Regions from separate parts of the Homo sapiens genome. Here regions 1, 2 and 4 are each linked to region 3. Evidence: promoter capture Hi-C in 16 types of primary human blood cells and fetal thymus (Javierre and others, 2016). All regions are on one chromosome and are shown on one strand. The core of a region is centred on a gene start or on the middle of the fragment in contact, and the rest is flanking DNA. Distances in the headings are between cores, read along the strand shown.

What was found. Contacts are between HindIII fragments. The CHiCAGO score rates a contact against its expected background, and 5 or more counts as called.
Region 1: a fragment that was not itself captured here is called in contact with the fragment with the promoter of SPCS3 in region 3 in 1 of 17 cell types (monocytes); the score reaches 7.6 in monocytes.
Region 2: a fragment that was not itself captured here is called in contact with the fragment with the promoter of SPCS3 in region 3 in 4 of 17 cell types (total CD8 T cells, monocytes, naive CD8 T cells and 1 more); the score reaches 6.9 in total CD8 T cells.
Region 4: a contact is called between a fragment that was not itself captured here and the fragment with the promoter of SPCS3 in region 3, in 1 of 17 cell types (monocytes). The highest score is 6.5, in monocytes.

Annotation. Positions count from the first base shown.
Region 1 is chr4:176,078,636-176,081,607 of GRCh38, reverse strand. The region is part of intron 1 of WDR17 (WD repeat domain 17); the gene reads right to left. Among named protein-coding and RNA genes, the nearest start is that of WDR17, 14 kb to the right of the region's middle. The HindIII fragment of the contact is 5,497 bases long and covers 1-2,972 here.
Region 2 is chr4:176,169,105-176,172,270 of GRCh38, reverse strand. All of the region lies in intron 23 of WDR17 (WD repeat domain 17), which reads right to left. Among named protein-coding and RNA genes, the nearest start is that of SPATA4, 25 kb to the left of the region's middle. The HindIII fragment of the contact is 1,555 bases long and covers 622-2,176 here.
Region 3 is chr4:176,318,383-176,321,342 of GRCh38, reverse strand. SPCS3 (signal peptidase complex subunit 3) reads right to left here and starts at 1,377. Exons shown (of 5, transcript NM_021928.4): 1 at 1,124-1,377. The coding sequence starts at 1,266. It overlaps SPCS3-AS1 (SPCS3 antisense RNA 1), which reads left to right and starts at 833. Exons shown (of 4, transcript NR_186171.1): 1 at 833-1,198. RefSeq lists silencers at 664-743, 774-843, 964-1,083 and an enhancer at 1,066-1,566. The HindIII fragment of the contact is 6,231 bases long and covers 1-2,438 here.
Region 4 is chr4:176,103,187-176,106,476 of GRCh38, reverse strand. The region is part of intron 1 of WDR17 (WD repeat domain 17); the gene reads right to left. Among named protein-coding and RNA genes, the nearest start is that of WDR17, 39 kb to the right of the region's middle. The HindIII fragment of the contact is 3,686 bases long and covers 1-3,290 here.

The sequences.
Region 1 (2,972 bases), core at 200-2,699, 240 kb after region 3:
AAAAAAAGGAAGTCTGTTTTAGTTACTGATTTTCTGTTATTTGCACTTGACTTCATTTCTAATAGACACAAATAAATGTATGAAACAATATGCAATAGCTGCTATAATAGAGAATGAACACATATTTGGAGGAACAGAAAGAAAAATGTGCCTATGATTTAGGTGGCCAAGAAGGCTGTATAAAAAAAAGGTGAGGTTGGAACTTTGAGAGGGAAATTATTTTTCTGTGCCTAAAGTATAATGGCACGTAAAAAGGAGTAGTGGAACATGAGAATGAACAGACAGGCGAGACAGAATGATGGAAAGTCATGTAGATCATGGTAAGAACTGTGAATTTTACTTTATAGGAGATGGGGAGTCTTTGAAACATTTTCAACATGCTAACGATATTTTAAAATCACACAGAAATCCCATTTTGTGATTTACTAATATCATCCTGACACTATTTTGAAAAGGCCTCTGGGGGACAGGGTAGCAAAACATGTATAAGTAGATGAGAAAGACAAGGGGCTGAACTAATTAACTGGCAGCAAGGGAGAGGTAGAACTTAAGATTTGTAGACTTCTGCCTGACTGAATAACTTAGCCCCATTCATTGAGAGAGAGAATTCAGTAGGAGCTCCAGGGTCTGGGATAAAGCGATAAAGCTCTATTAAAAGATATTGAATGCAAAATGTCAGTGCGACATGTAGGTGGAGATTCCTAAAATTAAAATACAGAGGTCTGGATAAGCATTTCATACACAATTTTGAGTAACACCAATGTCTGAGGGATAAGTACAGGAAAGAAAAAGGAGTCTGAAAAGACAACCAAGCAAAGAGATACAATAAATAAAAATAATAGAGAAAATAATATGTTAAATGTCAAAGGAGAACGTTCTCAAGCAGGTTAAATATTTCAGACAGGCCAAGTAAAATTAAGACTGAAGTATTCATCCTGCATTTGAGGATTAAGAAGCAGGCTGTTAATTAGCAAAATTAGTAAAACCTCCACTAGTCAATGATCGGTCCTCATTTTACTTGCTACTTTAGCAGCAGTAGCTGCCACGTTGGATCACAGTTGAATCCACCCTCCTGAAACATCTCTTTCACTTACCTTTTAGAAAAGTGTTTTCTTTTGATTCCCCTACTACTTCAGTGCCTTCTCCCCATTGTTTTTTTAAAATCTTTTTGTTTTGATTCCTCATCATCTCCCTGAACTTCAAACTTTAGAACGTCCTAGGGATCAGTCCTTGGATTTCTTCTCCACACCGGTTCTCTCGGTGATCCCATCCAGTTTTAGAAATTTAAATACCATATACATTTACCCCCAAGTTTTTATCTTGAGTCTAATTCATATTTATAATTTCCTGCTTAACATCCCCACATGGATTTTAAATAGATTCTCAAATTTAAGTTATTAAAAAAAAACTTATGATGTTCCCCACAAAATATGCTCCTACTTGTTTTTTTCTAATTCAGTAAATGGCCACCAATCTGACTATAGTAAATAGCTACTGATGACTGCTGCTATGGTTTGACTGCATCCCCTACATTTCATGTGTTGGAAACTTAATCCCCAATGTGGCAGCATTGAAACGTGGGGCCTTTAAAATTGATTAGATCATGAGGGTTCTGCCCTTGTGAACAAATTAATCCATTCATGGATTAATGAATTAGTGGCTCAATGGGTTAGCAGGTTATCATGGGAGGGGAAGTGGTGGCATTATAAGAGTAGGAAGAGACCTCAACAAGCATGTTAAGCATGTTAGCATGCTCACCCCCCCTCGCCTTGTGATTACCTGTACTGCCTTTGGACTCTTCAGAGTCCCAACCAGCAGGAAGGCTCTTAGGCTTTTACCAGATGTGGCCTCTTGACCTTGGACTTCTTAGCTTCCGTAATGGTAAGAAATAAACTTATTTTCTTTACAAGTTACCCAGTTTCAGGTATTCTTTTGTAAGCACCAGAAAATGTATGAAGACAACATATGTATGTAGGTATAAAGAATAACTGATGTTTCCTTAATTTGATTCAATATGAATCACCTTCTGGTGATAGAGACATTCCATTTGAGATATGTATGAGTGTGTATGTGTATGTTGACATTTTAGTAAAGACTATGTGTAAATTTTTAAAAGCATTAAGAAATAGAGACTATTTGCAGTACTGCTAATAAAAACTGGGTTTTATTTTTCCAATTCTAATACATTTCTTATTAGTTTACATTTCATTACTTACTGATTAAACAGCCCCATGACAAAAGGAAATCAGAACATCCAAAAGATATCTCCACTCCCATGTTTACTGCAGCACTGCAGCACTATAGCCAAAATGTAGGATCAAACGTAAAGTCCATCAGCAGATGAATGGATAAAGAAAATGTGGTATATATACACAATGAAATACCATTGAGCCATAAAAAAATAAAATGCTGCCATTCATGGCAACATAGATAAGCCTGGAAGACATGTTAAGTGAAATAAGCCAAGAACAGAAAGGTAAATACTGTATGTTCTCACTCTTATGCAGAAGCTAAAAAAGTTGGTATCATACAACTAAAGAGTAGAATGCTGCTTATGAGAAGCCACAAAGGGTACAGGGTAGGGGAGATAAGAAAAGATGGATTAAATAATACAAAATTACAGCTATATAGAAGGAATAAGATCTAGTGTTCTAAGCACTATAGGAAGACTATAGTTAACGATAATTTATTATATATTTTCAAATAGCCAGAGAGAGGACTTTGAATGCTCCCAATACAAGAAATGATAAATATTTGAGGTGACAGATATACTATCCTGATTTGATTACTCTATATTGCATGTATCATAAATATGTGCCCCATAAATACATATAACTATGTTTTAATGAACAAAATAAATTAATTAAAAAATGACAAAAAGCCCATGACAAAGATCAAAATATGAGTAGAATTGGAGAGATAAGCAGCAAAATATAATTTTAATTGAAAATTATTATAGTTTTATCTTCCAG
Region 2 (3,166 bases), core at 150-2,649, 150 kb after region 3:
TAAAGTTATCTAAAATAGATGTAAATGAAATTATTTGAATTAAGAGAATATATTTATGGAAATACCTTTAAGATCTAAAAACAGTAAGAGGGGATATTAGTTAATGAGTTAGTAGTTTTCCATCACACAAATACCTAATAAAAGAAATAGAAGTAAATTGTCCTGATTGTGATACTGGAGTTAGTACCCAAAAATGCCATTTAGCACCCAAATGATGAAATTAATTATGTTAGAAAAAATATACTGACCATAACGGCGCAAAAACGACATTAAATGCACCAAACATAAAGGGTGTGCATTATTCCATGTCCTCTACGCTGTAATTTAACGTCACTTGGCTTTTGAAACAAAGCAACCTTATTTCAGAGACACAAAAAATGTAGAAGCTCTAAAAGTTTTTAGCTTTGACATTTTGAAATGCCATGAAATGGAGATTTTTTCATCCATGAAATTTCATTACTATAAAATAAAAAGCCACATTCCTCATTAAAAAAAAATCTTTTTCTGTTAAAACTGAGAGTCTGATCCTCTCTCAAGTAAGTTGGTCTGCTTCCTTATAATGTATTAAGCATTAAGTTACCTTTTATATCAAATTCTGATGTGTTTATAATTGTTGAAGCTTAAACGTTCAAGTTTGTTGCTAAACAATGTGGATAAAATAGTTTCATGGTTTGTTTCAATTTATTTATTAATACATTCATTTAATCATTTCAAATTTCTTATTTAAAAATTAGGTAAAATGAACATTTTACATCTCAATCTCTCTCTCAAACAAATTACAACAAACTGAATTAACGGGGCTCTCATATATATAACGTTTGATATTGTTTCCCCATCCTTATTCATGAAATGCCAGTTATTTACAAAGCAACTACTATAGGGTAGGTACTGTGCTTGGCTAGATAGAGACATAGGTTCTTCACCTTGATATATGCTCATGGCATAGAGGAAATAAGAAATCACTCCCATTTAAATATCGTTTTTAAATAGACTATAAGAAGAAGAAAAAGATGATCATCCTTGTAATTTTTATCCTATTTTAAAATTCTAAAAGTTATATAAGTACCTCATATGTGAATATATAGTTTTTAGTGTTACAGACAGTCCCCAACTTATGTTTTGACTTTATGGTAGTGTAAAAGCAACATGCATTCAGTAGAAACTGTACTGTGAGTACCCACACCACCATTCTGTTTTTCACTTTTTGTACAGTATTCATTAAATTACATGAGATATTATTATGAAATAGGCTTTGTGTTAGATGACTTTGTCCAACTGTAGCCTAATGTAAGTGTTCTGAGCACGTTTAAGGAAGGCTAGGTTAAGCTATGATGTTTGGTAGGTCAGGTGTGTTAAACGTATTTTTGACGTAGAATATTTTTGACTTATGATAGATTTACCCATTGTAACCCCATGGTAAGTCGAGGAGCATCTGTACTTGTGAAATTGTTCAGTTATTAACACTTTTACACATACTCACTAGTCTTTCTAAAAAGATATTAATGAAGTCTGAACAGAAAGTCTAATTATATCCTTTTAGAATGTGTGATGAAAAGACGAGGTGAATAATATTCTAGCCCTATCATTAAAAGCGGTCTTAGCTAACTGCCTATATTCTTCTACTGTGTGTAGCTTGCACTAGAAAATAATTGATTTGGCCAGGCGTGGTGGCTCATGCCTGTAATGCCAACACTTTGGGAGGCTGAGGCGGGTGGATCACCTGAGGTCAGGAGTTTGAGACTAGGCTGACCAACATGGTGAAACCCTGTCTCTACTAAGAATACAAAATTAGCTGGGTGTGATGGTGCATGCCTGTAATCCCAGCTACTTGGGAGGGTGGGGCAGGAGAATCGCTTGAACCCAGCAGGCAGAGGTTGCACTGATCTGAGCTCGTGCCATTGCACTCCAGCCTGGGCAACAAGAGTGAAATTCCATGTCAAAAAAAAAAAAAAAAGAAAAAAGAAAAAATAATTGATTTGACAACAATGTTAGTAAAGTTTATAGGAATAAAAAAATAGTACATATACTAAATTTTTCCTATTACTAGTGTGGTTTTCTTATTAAAGTTGTCCTAAATGATATAAATAAAATTATTTGAATTAAGAGCATATATTTATGGAAATATCTTTAAAATCTGAAAATAATAAGTGAGGTCATTAGTTTAAGTCTTAAAGCTTAGACAAGCCATTTAGCCTCTCTGAGTCTTGATATTAACATCTGCACCTTCTGCCTCAGAGGATAGCTGTTAGTGTACATTCAAACACTACCAGTTAATGTATAATTAAAAAACTCCTACTTTCTTTCATATGCATTTTAATTTCAATGTAAAATAGCTTTTAGTTGTCATGTTAAAAAAACAAAGCACAGCTTTTAAAAAAAATAATTCACAGACTACAAGGTGTATAAAGTAGTTAAAATATCCCATCATCTCACAACCCACTGGTAATTTCGGACATTTATCCTTTCACAAGTATTTTCCGCGTCTCAACACAAACACATTCACATACACATATCCACCCACACGTTGTCATTCACACACACTTTTGGCCAATCTGTATTAATACAATACTCAGAAAATATCTGTTGCTTAATGAATAGGGATACTCACCCACTAGGGATAAAAAAATCACGGTTCAAATAAGTGAAAAACTTCATTATTTTAGAAGTTCAAGATGAGAAAATATTGTACTTATATCTTATCATTTTCTTAAAAGAAACTGTATCTTCCTAAATATGCTATAAACATAAATAAATACATACATTCACATTTATTTTCAAACCAAAATCATATGGCATATGCATAGTTTTGTGATCTGCTTTCTATTTAACTGTTTCATAGCCATGTATCATGCCAATAAAAATAGAGCTTCATGATTTTTAATGGATTAATAGCACTGAAATATAGAAAAGTACTGTAATTTAATATAAATAATCTTCCTATTGAACATTTTGGTTGTTTTTGTATATAATATTGATGCATAGATTCCTATATTCTGCAGATGAGTATTTTTAAAGCACTTTGGAAAAATGCATGTAAATTTCATTATATTTCATTAATTCTTTTAAGGATTCTAAGTTGTCTATTTTAAAAATTTATCCTACAACATACTTCAGTATGCAAAGTGTACAGTGGAAAACACTTGGGATTTGGAGTTAGACTTGCTGA
Region 3 (2,960 bases), core at 128-2,627:
CCAGAATGGTAAGAAAACTTGCTCAAGACAACAACAGCTAACATCTGTTCAGTGTTTAATATGCACCAAGCTCTTCTAACCCTCACAGGGCTGACAATGGCAGTGCTGATGTCCACCCCAGGTCTATTCGAACAATATCTAACAAACATCAGTACAGTAATTTAAAAAAAAAAAAAAAAGGTGGGGGGAGAAGGCTCGCTATTTGATAACTGGCTTCTTGGCGATTCTGACAAAGAAATAAACTAAGGTTAAAGAACTTGTGTAAGACGGAAATAGAGTAGAAGGGTATGAGAACAAGAGATGGAAAAATACGACGATTAAAGACAAAAGTGCCAGAGAATAAAATCAAGGACAAAATAGGCAATAGCGAAATGGCACTGTCATTTCGAACTGCATTTTTTGGCGTTTTCGCAGACTTCTTCAAGTGGTTGGCAAAAGAAAAAGAAATAAAGAAACCCAACAAAACAAAAATCTCGCTGTATCAGAAGGCTAAGATGCTTAATTCTCTCAGTGCCCAACATCTCTGGCCAACTTCAAAGCAGCTCCAACTGTTTACTGCCTTCTGAAGGTGCAAAGGCAACAACTGTAAAGGGAATGTCAAACAGGGCAAACTCGGGTGATGAATGACACAAAGACAACCCCGTCCTGTGGCCTCCAGAGCCGCCAGGAAACCCCACGGAAGCCCGACCCAGAGCGCGGCGGCAGCGCCTGGAGGGCCTCGCATGCGGACCACGAGCGGCACCGGACGCGCGGGAGGCGCCAGCCCAGGCGGGCGGCGGCGCCGGCTCTGCTGTTGTGTTGCTCCCTCATTGGCCAGGCGTGGGTGGAGGGAAGTGAGGAACAGGAAGCAAGCGGAGGCACCGACCTGAGGAACGCTCAAAATTAAAATTTAAGAGCAAGCCCGGGAATTTACGGTGGAGGGGTGCAAGTTCCGAGGGGACGCCGGAAAAGCCTGCGACGTCCACCCCTGACGACCGCCCTCGGGGGCGAACTGCCGCTCAGGAGGGCGATCCGGACGCCCTGCCCGCGGCCCCGGCACGGCAGCCCCGGCGCGGCGGCCCGGCTTCGGCTTCCGCCCCAGCCCGGTCCCGGCGTCCTGCACCGCCGGCCCGGCCTCACTCACAGCATGATCCGCGAGACGTGCAGCCGCACCGGGACGCTCCTGTCTTTGAAGGCGGTGGTGATGAAGCAGCCGAAGGTGAGCGCCGCCATCACGCTCAGCGAGAAGGCGAACAGTGAGTTCGCCCGCGACAGCACCGTGTTCATCGCGATCGTCTCCCACGAGTCCGGACTCCACACGCACACCCAGGCTCCCGTTCCGGCGGCGGACCGGCTCCCTGCGATCCGCGCCGTCTGCGGTGCGCGCGTTCCGGGAGCGCGCGCCGCCGCAGCCCCGCCTCCTTTCCGGTCCTCCGACGCGAGCGCGCGCGCGCCCGCTTCCCGAAACACACCCACAGCGCGCACGGGGCGGCGCGGAAAGGGAGAGACTCAGCCGCGGGCCCGCCCCTCCGTCGCGGCCTAACGCCGCCACCAATCAGCGACGAGTGAGGGAGGGGCGGGGTTTGTTGTGGAAGACCCACCCCCTCCTCTTCTAAATTGCTTCTCCGACCTTTGGGTTCAGAGAATTGGGAACCGGTCGTTCGCTGTCCTTTTTCGGTTCTTTGGTCAGAGGTCTGGGACTGCGACTTCTTGATTACTTATGTACCATTTATTTTCACTTGAAACCGGCAGCAAGTTAAGGTGGTTTAGAATCTGTCCTGACGGGTGGCGTTTGGAAGCAGCACTTTACAAAACGCCTGGTCCTCTCCCTTCTTTGTCAAACCTGGTCAAAGTTAGGACTTGAGCTTTTTTTGGAGGATCTGAGGAGCAGTGGGGAGTGGGGAATTAGCCGCCCAAGTCCTTAAAGCTGTCACGTGCATCAGTATTTCCACCTCCAACGTCAGTCCAATTCCTATTAATGCTTTGCTTTGTATGGATAGCTAAAGATGTTTTAGAAGATAAGGGTTGAGGCTACCGATCCTAAGTATTTGCATTTTAACATGGTGATTTCTGATAAATAAAAGGATAACCTTTCTGGGTTCTTAGGAGCAAAGAAGATAATGGCTGCGGAATTGCTCTACAGCATAATGTATAAGAATTTCGTTGGGTCATTAATAAATAATGCAATTATTTTATCACATTTTCAATATCCTGAAGGGCATTAGGGTTCAAACCGAGCCAATCCTGACTCTGATTATACTATCTGCCAAAACCTTTGTTCCTTTCACAGCTAAGGGTTTTTATAAAAATGGATTCAGGGTCTGCTGAAATAAATTTTTTTTAAAAATTTCAGTCCATAAACCAAACAAAAATATCTGTCCTGGAATGTGATCAGGAACAAACCAGAAAACTGTGAACATCTGATCTTGATACTGGCTTATGTTGTCTCTTGTTAAGCTTTTGCTTCTTTGCATTATTCATGACCATTCAATTAATTTTTGTATAGCCATACAGGTAGGATTATTACCAAGTGCCTACCGTGTACCAGGAATAGTTCTAAGCCTTGAGAATACAGCACTAATAAGGCAGACTCCCTGCTCAAATAGAGCCAACTAATGAAAAATCGATAAAATAGAGACTAAAGAGAGATCCTTAGTTGCGTTTAAAATCTTAGTTTTTAACTTCCAGGCTGGCACAGTTTGTTAACAAAAAAAGAAAAAAAAGGATTTTTATTGAATGCCATCTATACTGCAAGTGATACAGAGATTGTACTGATCACTTTCTACACTCAAAAGTATATAATCAGGTAGAGTTAATAAAATAAAAACAAATCTGAAATGTAAAACAAAAAAATACCCTGGGAAGTTACATAGCAAAGGAGGAAGGAATTACAGCCCTGGTAATGTGGGACAACACAGTGTGCAAATTATTTAACACAAAGCCTAAACAAGACACATTATTATTATAGCATGTTTTAGGGA
Region 4 (3,290 bases), core at 554-3,053, 220 kb after region 3:
TTTAATTTTTTTATATGGTGTTAGGTAAGAGTCCAATTTCATTCTTTTGCATGTGGATATTTCGTTTTCCCAGCACCATATGTTAAGACTGGCCTTTCTGCATTGAATGGTATTGCCACTCTTGGCAAAAGATATTTGGCCATATATGTAAGGGGTTAGTTCTGAAGTCTCTATTTTATATTTATATATAAATTTATATATATTTGCAGGATAAAATATTATATTCCACTGGTCTATATAACTGCCTTTATGCTGGTATGACACTGTTTTGATTACTGTAGTATTGCAACAAGTTTTGAAATCAGAAAATGCGAGTCCCCCAGTTTTGTTATTCAGGGTCTCTTGAGTTTCTATATCAATTTTAGCATGGCTTTTTAAAATTGTTGCATTTGCCCATTTCATCTAGGTTATTGAATTAGTTGGTGTACAATTGTTCCTACTACTATCTTATAACGTTTTTAATTTCTTTATAATCTGTAGAGATGTTCCAACTTTTATTTGTGATTTTAATAATTTGAGTCTTCTCTCTTTTTCTTAGTTTATCCAGCTACAGGTTTGACAATTTCGTTGATCTTTTTCTCTATTTTTTTTTCTATTCTCTACTTCATTTATCTCTGCTTAGATATTATATCCTTCATTCTAGTTTTGGGTTTAGTTTATTCTTTTGTTAGTTCCTTAAGTTGTAAAAATAGGTTGCTAATTTGAGATCCTATAAATGCTTTAATGAAAGCATTTATAGCTACAAATTTGCCCCCTGGCATTGATTCCACTGCATCCCATAAGTTTTGGTATGTTGTGCTTTTGTTTTCACTCATCTCTAAGAGTTTTCTACTTTCCCTTGTGATTTCTTCTTTCATCCATTGGTTGTTGGAGAGTGTGTTAAGTTCCACAAATTTGCGAATTTTTCAGTTTTCTTTCTGTTATTGATTTCTAACTTTATCCCACAGTGTTCAGAGAAGACATAATGTATGATAACTACTTTTTAAAATCTATTGAGGCTTAATACTTGGCCAAACATATTGTCTATCCTAGAAAACATCCCATGTGCACTTAAGAAGAATGTGTATGCAGTTACTGAGTAGGGTGTTCTGTATATGTCTGTTAGATCTAATTGGATTAATATATTGTTTGAGTCCTCAGTTTCCTTACTTATTTTCTGTCTGATGTATTCATTATTGAGAATGGGGTATTGAATTATCCAACTATTATTGTAGAACTATCTATCCCTTCAATTCAGTTAGTTTTTGCTTCATATATTTTGATGGTGTTTTTTAGGTGTATAAATGTTATAACTTATATTTTGCTGCATTGAAACTTTATTAATATATAGTGTCCTTCTTTGACTTTTCTGAACTTTTTTGACTAAAAATCAATTTCATCTAATATTAATATAGGGCATGCCTGCTTTCTTTTTGCTACTCTGTGCATGGAAAAAATTTTTTTCATCCTTTTACTTTCAATCTATTTGTGTCTTTGGATCTCAAGTGAATCAACTGTAGACGGCATACAGATGGATCTTTTTTTAAATTAATTCTGCCAATCTCTTTTGTTTGAAGAGCTTAATATCCATTTACATTTACAATAATTCCTGATAAAGGACTTACTTCTGTCATTTTGCTATTCATTTCCAATATGCTTCATAGTTTTTTTGTCCTCATTTCCTGCAACGCTTTTGTCTTTTGTGTTTAGTTAATTTTTGCAGTGAAACTTTGAATTCCTTTCTCATTTTCTTCTGTGTATATCCTATAGCTATTTTATTTGTGGCTACCATGGGGATTAAACTTAACATGCTAAAGTTACAAGACTCTAATTTAACTTTATTCCAAATTAGCTTCAATTACATACAAAACCTCAGCTTCTTTAAAACTCCAACCCCACACCTTTAAGTTGTTGATGTCAAAAAATTACATCTTTATATATTGTGTGGCCTGAAACACAAACTAATTAATTATTTTAAATACATTAGTTTTTTAAATTAAGAGAAAATAAAATGTGGAATCACCAACCAAAGTTACAATAATACTACTTGTATACTAAGAATTTTTAAAATATTTTATTCTCTTAAATGATGATGAAAACAAACAATAGCATTGTTTCCAAATACTAGCACTTATAATTGTCCATGTATTTACCTTTATCAAGATCTTTATTTTTTCATATGGCTTTGAGTTACTGTCTAGTGTCATTTCATTTCACCCTGCAGAACTTCCTTGAGCATTTCTTCCAAAGCAGGTTTAAAGATAATGAACTCCCTCAGTTTTTGTTTACTGGGAAATGTATTAATTTCTCCCTCACTTCTGAAAGACAGTTTTGCAGGATAAAAGATATTTGGTTGACATTCTTTTTTTCTTTTAGCACTTTAAATATATTGGCCCATTTCCTTCCAGTCTCTAAAGTTTCATATCAGAAATCTGCTGTTTATACTATTGAGGATCCCTGTATGTATGTGTTAATCACTTCTTTCTTACTAATTTCAAGATTCACTCTGCTTTTCAAGATTTGATTATGATGTGTCTCCATGTGTGTCTATTTCAGTTCAAATTCTTGGAGCTTGCTGAAACTCTTGGAAATTTACTTCATGTTTTTCATCAAATTTGAGGAGTTTTCTGCCATTATTCCTTCAAATATTCTCTCTTCTCTTCCATCTCTCTCTCTTCTCTTCTGGTACTCCCACATGAGTGCATATTGGTGGGCTTCATAGTGTCCCTTATGTCCCTTCGGTTTTGCTTACTTCTCTTCAATTTCTTTCTGTTCCTCAGACTCAATATTTTCTATTGTCTTATCTTCATATTTGCTAATATTTTCTTCTTAAATATGTCTTTGAATTCTTCTATTTTACTTGTTATTATATTTTTCAGCCCTACAATTCTTTTTTTGGTTTTCTATCTCTATTATTTCTATTTTGTTCATACATTGTTTTCTTGACTTTCTCCATATCTCCTTTAGTTTTTAAGCATCCCAAGACAGTTGTTTTAAAGTCTTTGTCTAGTAGATCTTTCATCAGGTCTTTTTCAGAAAGCATCTGTTTATTTTTTTTTCCACTGAAAGAAACATAATTTTCTGTTTCTTTTTAGGCCTTGTGGCTTTTTGTTGAACCCTGGACACTTGAATCTAGTAATATGGTAACTCTGGAAATCAGAGTTTGCTGTTTTTGTTTTTATTTATTGTTTTTGTTTTCAATTGTTGTGGGCTGTCTGTGTCAAGGATCATCCTCAGGTATAAACATAAGGACTACTCAGGGTTATTCTGAACCTGTGTCCTCTGTTCATGCATAGTAACTTCCTAATTTT